4 separate regions of the Homo sapiens genome follow, and all the other regions are linked to region 3. The links are contacts of gene promoters, found by promoter capture Hi-C in human tissues and cell types (Jung and others, 2019). All regions are on one chromosome and are shown on one strand. The core of a region is centred on a gene start or on the middle of the fragment in contact, and the rest is flanking DNA. Distances in the headings are between cores, read along the strand shown.

What was found. Contacts are between HindIII fragments. The study calls those that stand out against the background at their distance.
Region 1: a fragment that was not itself captured here is called in contact with the fragment with the promoter of SLC23A2 in region 3 in 1 of the 25 tissues and cell types used here (spleen).
Region 2: a contact is called between a fragment that was not itself captured here and the fragment with the promoter of SLC23A2 in region 3, in 1 of the 25 tissues and cell types used here (spleen).
Region 4: a contact is called between a fragment that was not itself captured here and the fragment with the promoter of SLC23A2 in region 3, in 2 of the 25 tissues and cell types used here (adrenal gland and pancreas).

What each region holds. Positions count from the first base shown.
Region 1 is chr20:5,044,149-5,046,848 of GRCh38, reverse strand. No RefSeq gene overlaps it. Among named protein-coding and RNA genes, the nearest start is that of SLC23A2, 44 kb to the right of the region's middle. RefSeq lists a silencer at 1,391-1,610. The HindIII fragment of the contact is 5,043 bases long and covers 1-2,700 here.
Region 2 is chr20:4,943,131-4,945,830 of GRCh38, reverse strand. All of the region lies in intron 2 of SLC23A2 (solute carrier family 23 member 2), which reads left to right. Among named protein-coding and RNA genes, the nearest start is that of SLC23A2, 57 kb to the left of the region's middle. The HindIII fragment of the contact is 3,038 bases long and covers 1-2,700 here.
Region 3 is chr20:5,000,239-5,002,938 of GRCh38, reverse strand. It overlaps SLC23A2 (solute carrier family 23 member 2), which reads left to right and starts at 1,429. Exons shown (of 17, transcript NM_005116.6): 1 at 1,429-1,533. RefSeq lists enhancers at 1-99, 884-1,033, a promoter at 1,342-1,540 and silencers at 1,324-1,563, 1,754-1,913. The HindIII fragment of the contact is 14,848 bases long and covers 1-2,115 here.
Region 4 is chr20:4,962,806-4,965,505 of GRCh38, reverse strand. All of the region lies in intron 2 of SLC23A2 (solute carrier family 23 member 2), which reads left to right. Among named protein-coding and RNA genes, the nearest start is that of SLC23A2, 37 kb to the left of the region's middle. The HindIII fragment of the contact is 3,149 bases long and covers 1-2,700 here.

The DNA.
Region 1 (2,700 bases), core at 57-2,556, 44 kb before region 3:
GTTTTGTGGTTTTCATTGCACAAGTCTTTCAATGACTATTTTATTCCTTTTTTTTTTTTTAGAGATGGAGTTTCGCTCTTGTTGCCCAGGCTGGAGTGCAATGGCACGATCTCAGCTTACCACAACCTCCACCTATGGGGTTCAAGCGATTCTCCTGCTTCAGCCTCCCGAGTAACTGGGATTACAGGCATGTACCACCATGCCCAGCTAATTCTGTATTTTTAGTAGAGAAGGGGTTTCTCCATGTTGGTCAGGCTGGCCTCGAACTCCCAACCTCATGTGATCTGCCTGCCTCAGCCTCCCAAAATGCTGGGATTACAGGCGTGAGACACCGCACCCAGCTGTATTCTTTTTATGCTATTATAAATAGAATTATTTTCTTAATTTCATTTTCAGATTGTTCTTTGTTAGTATATAGTAACACAACTGATTTTCATGTATTGCTTTTGTGTCCTGCTGCTTTGCCAAATTTGTTTAGTAGTTCCAAAGGGTTTTTTGTGGAATCTTTAGGGTTTTCTAAGATCATATAATCTATGAATAATAATTTTCCTTCTTCCTTTCCAATTTGGATGCATTTTCTTTCTTTCTTCTTTTCTTTCTATTCCCTCCTTTTCCTTTTCTTTTTTCTTTTCTTTCCTTTTCTTCCTTTTTGCCTAATTGCTCTATCTAGAAATTCCAAGACTACGTGGTATGGAAGTGGTGAAAGTGGGCATTCTTGTCTTGTTCCTGATCTTCGAGGAAAAAGTTTGTCTTGCATCATTGAGTATGATTTAACTATGGGGTTTTCATATATGGCTATCATATTGTGGTAGTTTTCTTCTATTTCTAGTTTGCTGCATTTTTTTTTTAATCATGAAAGCGTGTTGAACTTTTTCAAAAGCTTTTTGTGCATTGACTAAGATGATCATGTGGTTTTTGTCTGTCATTCAGTTACTGTTGTGCATTACACTTACCGATTCTGGGATTGATTTTAAAGCATTCATTCCTCCAAACACACTCCCAGGGTTAGGTCTCTTACCTCTGCATGTATTTAGGAAAAAGACATAATATGACCAACTTCCCAACTATTAAACCATGTTTAGGATAAACTGTATTTTGTTATGGTGCCTTATTTATTTATTTATGAGACGGAGTCTTGCTGTGTCACCCAGGCTGGAGTGCAGTGGCGTGATCTCGGCTCACTGCGACCTCCGCCTCCCAGGTTCAAGTGATCCTCCTGCCTCAGCCTCCTGAGTAGCTGGGATTACAGGCACGCACCACCACATCTGGCTAATTTTTATATTTTTAGTAGAGACAGGGTTTCACCGTGTTGGCCAGGCTCGTCTCGAACTCCTGACCTCAGGTGATCTGCCCCACCTTGGCCTCCCAAAGTGCTGGGATTTACAGGCGTGAGCCACCGACCCTGGCCTGGCGCCTTCTTTTAAATAAGTTTTTTTTTTTTTTTTGAGATGAAGTCTTGCTCTGTCGCCCAAGCTGGAATACAGTGGTGTGATCTCGTAACCTCTGCCTCCCGGGTTCAAGCAATTCTCTGTCTCAGCCTCCTGAGTAGCTGGGATTACAGGTGTCCGCCACCATGCCCGGCTAATTTTTGTATTTTTAGTAGAGATGGGGTTTTGCCATCTTGGCCAGGCTTGTCTTGAACCCCTAACCTCGTGATCCACCCGCCTCGGCCTCCCAAAGTGCTGGGATTACAGGCATGAGCCACCGCGTCTGGCCCTTTTAAATAGTTTTATACTGCATACTATATTCAGTCTTTAGTGGTAGATGAATTCTTACTCTGTTGTTGCGTGCCCTGGAGAGCATAGTTCCTTGGAGACACCAAAGGAAGATTTTTCCAGGAAGGTCTTTTGGGAAGGGGCCTCCTCCAAGAAGGGAGTGAGGAAGGAGGTAGATTGAGTCAATGCACTTTTCCTCTATCTGGTCAGAGTTCTTGAAGGTATTTTTCTTCTGAACTTGGGTGGGGTTTGCAGTGGGGTAGGGGAAAAGAGAAATGATTCTGACACATACAAGAAAATGCTCCTTTGTGGGGCACGGGGGCAGGAGTTGCTTCCAAAAGGACCCAACAAAGACCTGTAGGGAACGTTTAAATTTATCTGTGTGTGGCCGGGCATGGTGGCTCATGCCTGTAATCCCAGCACTTTGGGAGGCCAAAGTAGGTGGATCACCTGAGGTCGGGATTTTGAGAGCAACCTGGACAACATGGTGAAACATGGTGAAACCCCGTCTCTACTAAAAATACAAAGTTAGCCCGGCATGGTGGCGCGTACCTGTAATCCCAGCTATTCGGCAGGCTGTGGAAGAAGAATCTCTTGAACCTGGGAGGCGGAGACTGCAGTGAGCCAAAATTGCGCCATTGCACTTCAGCCTGGATGACAAGAGCGCAACTCTGTCTCAAAAAATAAATAAATAAATATCTGTGTGAACTAGCACTTGAGAGACTGCAGCCTCAGGCAGTTTTCAGCCCTGTGCACACAATGAAATTACCTAAGGGGCTTAAAAAAAAATACGGAAGCCTGGGTCCCACCCCAGAGGCTCTGAGGGAAGTAACCTGCAGTGCAGTTTTTAACCATCCACAGGTGTTCGTCATGCAGCGCCAAGGTTGGGTAATGAAGAGCTGACATTGATTGAAGCTTACTCTGTGCCAAGCTCCATTCTACAAGTTTTACTTCACAATAACCTTACAAGACAGGTCTACTGTTA
Region 2 (2,700 bases), core at 95-2,594, 57 kb after region 3:
ACTTGGAACATGCCTTTCATGTCAGTGTGCAGAGTTTTTCCATCAGTGACTTGCAGACTCTTTTCCCCTGACCCACAGCATGAAGCATTTTACCTTGACACTCTCGGTTACCCCTGTCTTTTGAGATATGCTCTGAAGTTTTTTGTTCTGTCAAATGCCATTGTTTTAAAAATTCTGGTCAAGATCCACTAATTTAATTTCATGACCTACTAGTAGGTACTGACTTGCGGTTTGAAAAATGAGCGCTGGCTAGGCATGGTGGCTCATGCCTGTGATCCCAGCACTTTGAGAGGCTGAGGCGGGAGGATTGCTTGAGCTCAGGAGTTCGAGACCAGCCTGGGCAACAAGTAGACCCTGTCTCTACAAAAAATACAAACATTTGCTGGGCATAGTGGCGCATGCCTGTGGTCACAGCTACTCAGGAGGCTGAGGTGGGAGGTTGCAGTGAGCTGCGATTGCTTGACTGTACTCCAACCTGGGTGCCAGAGCCAGACTGTGTCTCAAAAAAGACAAACAAACAAACAAACAAACAAACAAGATCAAGAGTTCCTGCAGTGTTTTGGAGAAGACTGCAGGATGATTGTTATTTTTTTTTTAAATTCAGTCACATGCTGTGAGCATACTTGTCATCACAAGATCAAATAATCACCACTGCTTACAAGTTCATTCGTTGCTGCTTGGAGCTTTAAATGGAATAATTATAGCTAGGATCAGCATCAGAATTGCAAACTCCCTGAAGTCGGACTCTGTGTATTAGGTAACCAGTTAAGTCATTTCATTCAAAGGAAGTTGATCATATACAAGTTGAAGATTTTTTTTTTTTTTTTTTGAGAATTCAGAGCGTTTCATTCAAAACTAGCCCTCACCACACCTACAAGTTGAGGGCATATGTTCCAACAGTCTTTTCTGACTTGAATTAAAAGCATTTAGGTCAAATGTTAGCATTTAACAGAACTTAATGGAGCAGCCACAGTTTGATTATAATCCCCTTAATGGGATTTAAGCAAAGAGCCATGGATTGGCTTTTGAAATGTGCTTCATCATTGAACCTAGCCGGCCCTGAAAGCTCTTGTGTCTTAGTGAGAACCAAAGTAGCACTTGGCAGGCTGAGGTTTTGAGTGTCCTTATCCCAGAGGGCACTCCTTCTTAGTCATATTCTTCCCCTGTCTGGATTGGTTTAAAGAAGTGCAGACAATAGCTTTTTCCCAGCCAAGATTGCCTATCCCAAGGTGTGGGTGATCTGAGGACCTCTAGCATGAGAATATTTGTGCATTTGTTAAAAATACAGGTTCCTGGCCGGGTGCGGTGGCTCATGCCTGTAATCCCAGCACTTTGGGAGGCCAAGGCAGGTGGATCACGAGGTCAGGAGTTCAAGACCAGCCTGGCCAAGATGGTGAAACCCTGTCTCTACTAAAAATACAAAAATTAGCCGGGTGTGGTGGGGCACACCTGTAATCCCAGCTGCTTGGGAGGCTGAGGCAGAGAGTTGTTTGAACCCGGGAGGTGGAGGTTGCAGTGAGCTGAGACTGCACCACTGCACTCCAGCCTGGGCGACGGAGCAAGACTCCATCTCAACAAACAAACAAACAAAAATACAGGTTCCCAAGCCCCCAAGGTAGGTCTATAGGATTAGAATATGAGGAGGGGACATTTTTAAAATTGGTGGGATTACAGGGTTTTTTAATTCTTTTAGTCTTCTAAAGTCAATTTTATTGCGATAGTGTTTACATAGAGCAAGTGGATATACATCCAAATGGAGCCACCAGAATCACAGTCAAAACAGTAGATTTCTATCATTCCAAAGGTTCCATCCTTTCCCTGGGGAGCCCTTTCCTCCATTCTTGCCCTAGGTAACCACTCTCCGCTTCCCGTAGAATGGTTTGTCTTTTGAGAATCAGACTGCATGTCTCGTGTCTGGCTGCTTTAACGAAATGTCTGTGCAGCTCCCTTGTGCTGTCGGGCACGTCAGCAGACGCTCTCTGGTTTGTTGCTAACTAGCATGCCTTTTGATGGACCCACCATGATTTGCTTACCCGTCCACCTCTTGATGGCTCTTTGGATGTTTCTAGTTTGGGGCTGTTATAAATAAAACAGTGTCAAATTTTTGTCTTACATGTATTTGTGTGAAAGAAATCTGTCTTTTTTTTTTTTTTTTTGAGACAGAGTCTGACTCTGTTGCCTGGGCTGGAGTGTAGTCGTGCAGTCTCAGCTCACTGCAACCTTTACCTTCTGGACTCAAGCCATCCTCCCACCTCAGTCTCCTAAATAACTGGGACTACAGGCGGATACCACCATGCCTGGCTAATTTTTCTGTTTTTTTTTTTTGGTAGAAATGGGGTTTCGTCACGTTGCCCAGGCTGGTCTTGAACTCCTGGGCTCAAGCGATCCGCCTGCCTCAGCCTCCCAAAGTGCTGGGATTGCAGGTGTGATCCACCGTGCCTGGCCCAGAAGTGTATATTTTAAATAAGCTTCCCATGTGAGTCTTAAGCACATGAGCCACTGATTCTTATTCTGGCTCTTCCTCTCTCTCGTATCCTTTTGGAGAAGTGTGGGTTTTTGTCTAGAGCAAATGATGGATTTGCCATGGATTTATATTTCTGATATAGTATTTATTCAGTGCCGTCTACTTGGAGTAAATGTAAATTTCATTAGCATTTATGGAACATCTATCTTCTCCACACCGCCCCACCCCCCGCCCTG
Region 3 (2,700 bases), core at 180-2,679:
TTGTCAAGGTTAAGGATGGGCGCCCGTGACGCATAAAACCAAGCTTAGCTGGACCTGGTGGTGTGGTCCTGTCATCCCAGCTACTTAGGAGGCCAAGGTTGGGGGATCCCTTGAGCCTGGAAGGTTGATGCTGCAGCCTTAATTGTGCCGTTGCACTCCAGCCTGGGTGACAGAGTGAGACCTTGTCTCTAAAAAATTAAATATAAGCAAATAAAAATGCAGTTATTAGATAAATAAATGGGAAGACACATTATTGTCAAGACACAGACCACACTTGCCTATTTCATAAAATTCCTTTAGTTGCTGCTCCCCCAACTGCATTAATATGTGTGATGTCACTTTCCAAAACTGTGTAAAACACATAAATAATTCTGATTATAAAATCAATTTCTCTCCATGTGAGGTCAGACAGACACCGTCTACAATTCTGTTTCTCAAGAGTTGCCCGGGAACTAGTACATTATCATTCAGTTAGTAAAGCAACCATGACAACGGTTTCAAGATGGAAGGTGTTAAGAAAGTACTAATTATTAGAACATTTAAAAAATTGTATTCAGATTTCAGCAGTGGCTCAATACGTGTGGTCCCCAGACCAGTAGCATCAGCATCACCTGGGAACTTGGCAGAAATGCAGATTCTGGAGCCTCACGCCAGACCTCCAGCCTTAGCAACTCTGGGGGTGGGGCCCAGCCATCTGCATCTTAATGAAGTCCTCAAAGTGAGGCTGCCCAGCTCTAAGACCGAGGGCCAGGGATTTACACTTGGCCTTTCTGCTTAGCGGTCCAAGAACCTCACCCGGGGGCATCACCTGGGGACAATTTAGAAGTGCAGACTTTTGGGCTGCACCCCAGAGCCACTGAATGTGAACCCGCCCCTAGCCTAACACGACCCCCAGAGAATTCACGTCTGAAAAGCCTTGGTCTGTATTACGATCTCTGCATGAGGTAAGAAGGACTTCTTCTCCAGTTAGGTTAAAAAAACTGGCTACCTAAGTGGAGAAGCGGTGAAATTGTTTTAAAACATCCAACCCACTGAGCCCAATGCACCACAAACTGCTTGCTTATCACGCTCGAGCAATGACAGGGCTCGGTGGCAGGCGGGGTAAAAAGGGGGGACCTGGACCAGGACACTCAGGGACCAGCGCTCTGCTTGCCAGGTGGGTCCCCAGGAACAGGTGTGACTGGTGGGAAGGGTCGCGAAGGGGGGCGATCTTTCTGCGCAGGGGAGGGAAATGAAAGGAACGGGAAGGGGACGGCTGGGTGCGAGGCCCGGGATGTTCCGGGGAGCGCTGCCGGGTGCCAGGGAGCAGCCCCTCCCCGGGGGGAGGCCCGAGGGCAGGGGTCGGGGGCGGGGAGGGAGGTGGGCCCCAGACCGGCGCGGGGGCGGGCGGCTCCGCTGCACCCCGCCCCCGGCCCGCCCCTCCGCGGCGCCATTTTGCAGGCGGCTGTCGCGGGGACCGGAGGCGGAGGCTGCAGCGGGCACTGCGGCGCCGAGGCGCGGCGGCAGGACGGGAACCACGCGAGCTGCAGCCAGGTGAGAGCCCGGCCGCCGCGCCCCCTGCCCGGCCTGCGGGCCGCACCTGCCGGCGGGGCCGCGAGGTGCTCGCCGCGCCCACGAGGCCGGCCTGGCACGGCCCCCGCGCGCTGTCACCCACCGGCCCCGCGGCGCGGCCTGCGCGCCCCCACCCCGACCCATCTCCCGGGACCCCGCGCCCGCCGGCCACCCTGGCCCCGGGGCCCAAGATGCCCGGCGGCCCTCAGCTCCTGCCGTTCTGCCGGCCGGGCCGGGCCCCCGGGGTACCCACCCCTTCCCGCCACGGGAGCCACAGCGCGCTCGGGCCCTCAGGCCGCGCAGCGGGGAGGCAAATGGGGCGCCCCCAGAACCCCACTGGCTGCCGCCGCCTCCTCCCGGGCTCTGCGCCCGCGCGTCCTGGGGTCGCTTCCCTCGCCCCTCCCCCGGTGGTGCGCACGGGCATCGTCTCGCCCCCTGGAATTCAGGGGCATCAGGAGGGGCGGCAAGAGGGTGCCTTTTACATTCTTGCTTTCTTCCCTTCTACAAAGACTGCGCGAAGTAATTTTAGAAGCAGCTCCTCCGACCCCGGGGCCTTTCTGGCCTGTTCCCTGGGGGGTCGCGAGTCCCCCTCCTTGCCACCTTTCGGGGGGAAAAAATGACATTTCGAGTGTGACTACTTTAAGGCGCAGGATTTTCTCCTTCGTTTGGTCCTAGATGCCCCCCCTTGGATGGGTGGCTGATAGGATGTCGGCCTGCAGGCTGGGGGTTTAAGCGTGACTGATGGGAAATTATCGATTGTCAGGGCAAAGGGTAAATGAGGGCAACTGCAGGTGGAAGAAAGTCACCCATAAGGGCTTTCTGGGTCTGCAGCGTTTGTAGTAGGTGCTACTTCTATTCTTGCAGTGCTGGGAGACGGGCGGGGGAAGATGCAGTCCCTGCTGACAATTGGGTCATCTGCGCGCAGAGAAGGCCCCGGGATGTGCGAGGACATGGGACTGGGAGTCCGGAGGCAGTCTGGTTTGAGCTGTCACTAATTGGCCATGTGACCTCCCTCAGCCGGCTTCGTCCTCTCTGAAGCAAAAGGCTGGAATTGGGGTGGCTGGAGCATTTTTATTTTATGCTTTTGTATTTGAATGCTGTTGGGTTTGGGCCTCACCGTTTCTGGTTGTCTACACCTGCCTTTTTCAC
Region 4 (2,700 bases), core at 187-2,686, 37 kb after region 3:
GCCACTGGGCCCAGCCAGTTTATAATTTTGACAAGTTAAAGTTTGGTTGCAATGAATGAGTCTCATTTCTTTTTCAAATAAAGAAGATCTAGGAAATGTGAAGAAGTATAGTAACTAATGTTAGATAAAGACAGCCCTTGGAAGAGTTGAGATCCAAGAATAAAAAGGATTTAAGGAAAATCAGGAACCCCTGAACACAGTAGGTTTACCGAGTATGAAGAGCGCTTACCTTTTGACCACACCTTTGGTTTCCTAAGTTACTCAGGTGCCATCAGCAAGCCCTTAGGAATGATAAATTTAGGCTCCTGGTTACCAGGAAACTCTAGCCCTCCCAGCGCTCTCTCCGGGAGCACACTGACTATATCAATAGGGTGTTTTTTCTCAGCACTGGTGTTGACTGCCAGAATTTCTCTTCTAGTTTGTCTTACCTGTATATTTATTTCAGTGTTGTCCTTAGATAATGGCTCAAGCTTTTAAGAATTATGAAAGTGACATATGTACACTGTAGAAAAATAAGGGGAAAAAAAACCACATATAATCCCATCATCTGGAGATAATCATGTACTATTTTGGTGTTTTCCTCCATTTTCCTTTCTTTTTTTTTTTCTTCTTTTCCCTTCTCTTCTACTCTTCTCTTCCTTCCTTTTTTTCTTTTCTTCTTTTTTTTTTTTTTGAGACAGAGTCTTGCTCTCATCACCCAGGCTGGGATGCAGTGGTGCGATCTCACTGCAACTCTACCTCCCGGGTGCAGGGGATCCTCCTGCCTCAGCCTCCTGAGTAGCTGGGACTGCAGGAGTGTGCTACCACACCTGGCTAATTTTTTGGTGTCCCTTCATTTTCTGCATGTGTGCACACACTGAAATGGGATTATCAGGTTTGTTTTGTAAGCCTGTCTTTTTCTCAGCTTAATAATGCACTCCTTACGTTGCCACGTCAGTCACCCATGTTTTAATCTCTGTAATATGCTCATATAAGAATGTGCCCACAATTGTACCAACCAGTCCTCTATTTTAGGCATTAATATTTTCCCCTCCGGTTTTGGATTACTCTTAAGCATTATTTTAATGAACACTCACAAAATGAAAAATTTAAGCCTGTTTTAATTATTTTGCTAGGATAAATTCCTTAAGAGTAAAATTGTTAGGTCAAAGGCTATGTGTATTTTTAGAGCCTTTGATTGGTGATGTTAAATTACCATCTAAAAATGTTATGTCTGGGTGCAGTGGTTCACGCCTATAATCCCAGCACTTTGGGAGGCTGATGTGGGCGGATTGCTTGAGCCCAGGAGTTCAAGACCAGCCAGGGCAACGTGGGGAGACCCCATCTCTACCAAAAATAGAAAAATTAGTATGTGCCTACAATCCCAGCTACTTGGGAGGCTGAGGTGGGAGGATCACCTGAGCCCAGGAAGGTCAAGGCTGCAGTGAGTCATGATTGTGCCACTGCACTCCAGCTTCGGCGACAGAGTGAGACCCTATCTCAAAAAAAAAAAAATAAGTTAATGGCAATTATTACTCCCACTAGCAGTATATCCAAAGTGCTTGCATGTTAACGGGATGTTAAAAATTATTTACTAAATTTACAATTACAATTTGTTGTGTAAATTATAAATGGTACATTTTATTTTATTTCTGCCTTTTTGATTTTTTGCTTTTTTTGAGACAGAGTCTCACTATGTCACCCAGGCTGGAGTGCAGTGGCACGATCTCAGCTCACTGCAACCTCCGCCTTCTGGGTTCAAGTGATTCTGGTGCCTCAGCCTCAGGAGTAGCTGGGACTACAGGTGTGTGCCATCATGCCTGGCTAATTTTTATATTTTTAGTAGAGACGAGTTTTCACCATGTTGGGCAGGCTGGTCTTGAACTCCTGGCCTCAAGTGATCCACCCATCTTGGCCTCCCAAACTGCTGGAATTATAGGCGTGAGCCACCGTGCCTGGTCAGATTTTTTACATTTTTTTTTTTTAATAAGAAAGCTTACATATGGTCATATTCCTATTGGCAACACAGAGAATCATATTAAAGGAGTTATGGCAGCCTTAGGGATTCTTATAGCCATGCAGACTACTTTTAAGTGGCTGTGACTAAGGGGTCCTGAAGCCAGCATGCCAGAGCACCTGCTTTCCTGACTTGGTGGCTTGCTGGATACATCTTTAGGTATATACCCTTCGCTTATTTTCTGCTGATCACAATTTAGGAACTGGATAGACCCAGAAAACGTGGATCCCTGGTTGGCTTCATGAACTTGAGAAAAGCATAACTTTGGATAACGAAGGACATTTGGCATGAATTGTGCTCCTTGCTTTGGGAGAATAGCAAAGAGTGAAGTGAGTGGTTTGGATTTTGGGAGATGTGGAAAGGATTTGCTGAGGAATTGATATTTACATTCTCCAGGTGTTGCAGTATTTCCAGGTAGAGGGAATAGCAGGCTGTGTCCTCCAGCCTTAATTCAACTACCACTGTTAGTTTTGAAGCCTTTTTCCTCTTTGCCATCATCTGGCAACTTTTTTTGAGATAGTCTTGCTCTGTCACCCAGGCTGGAGTGCAGTGGCGTTATCTTGGCTCACTTGCAACCTCCGCCTCCCTGGTTCTAAGCGATTCTCCTGCCTCAGCCCCCTGAGTAGCTGGGATTACAGGTGCATGCCACCACACCCGGCTAATTTTGTATTTTTAGTAGAGATGGGGTTTTACCATGTTGGCAA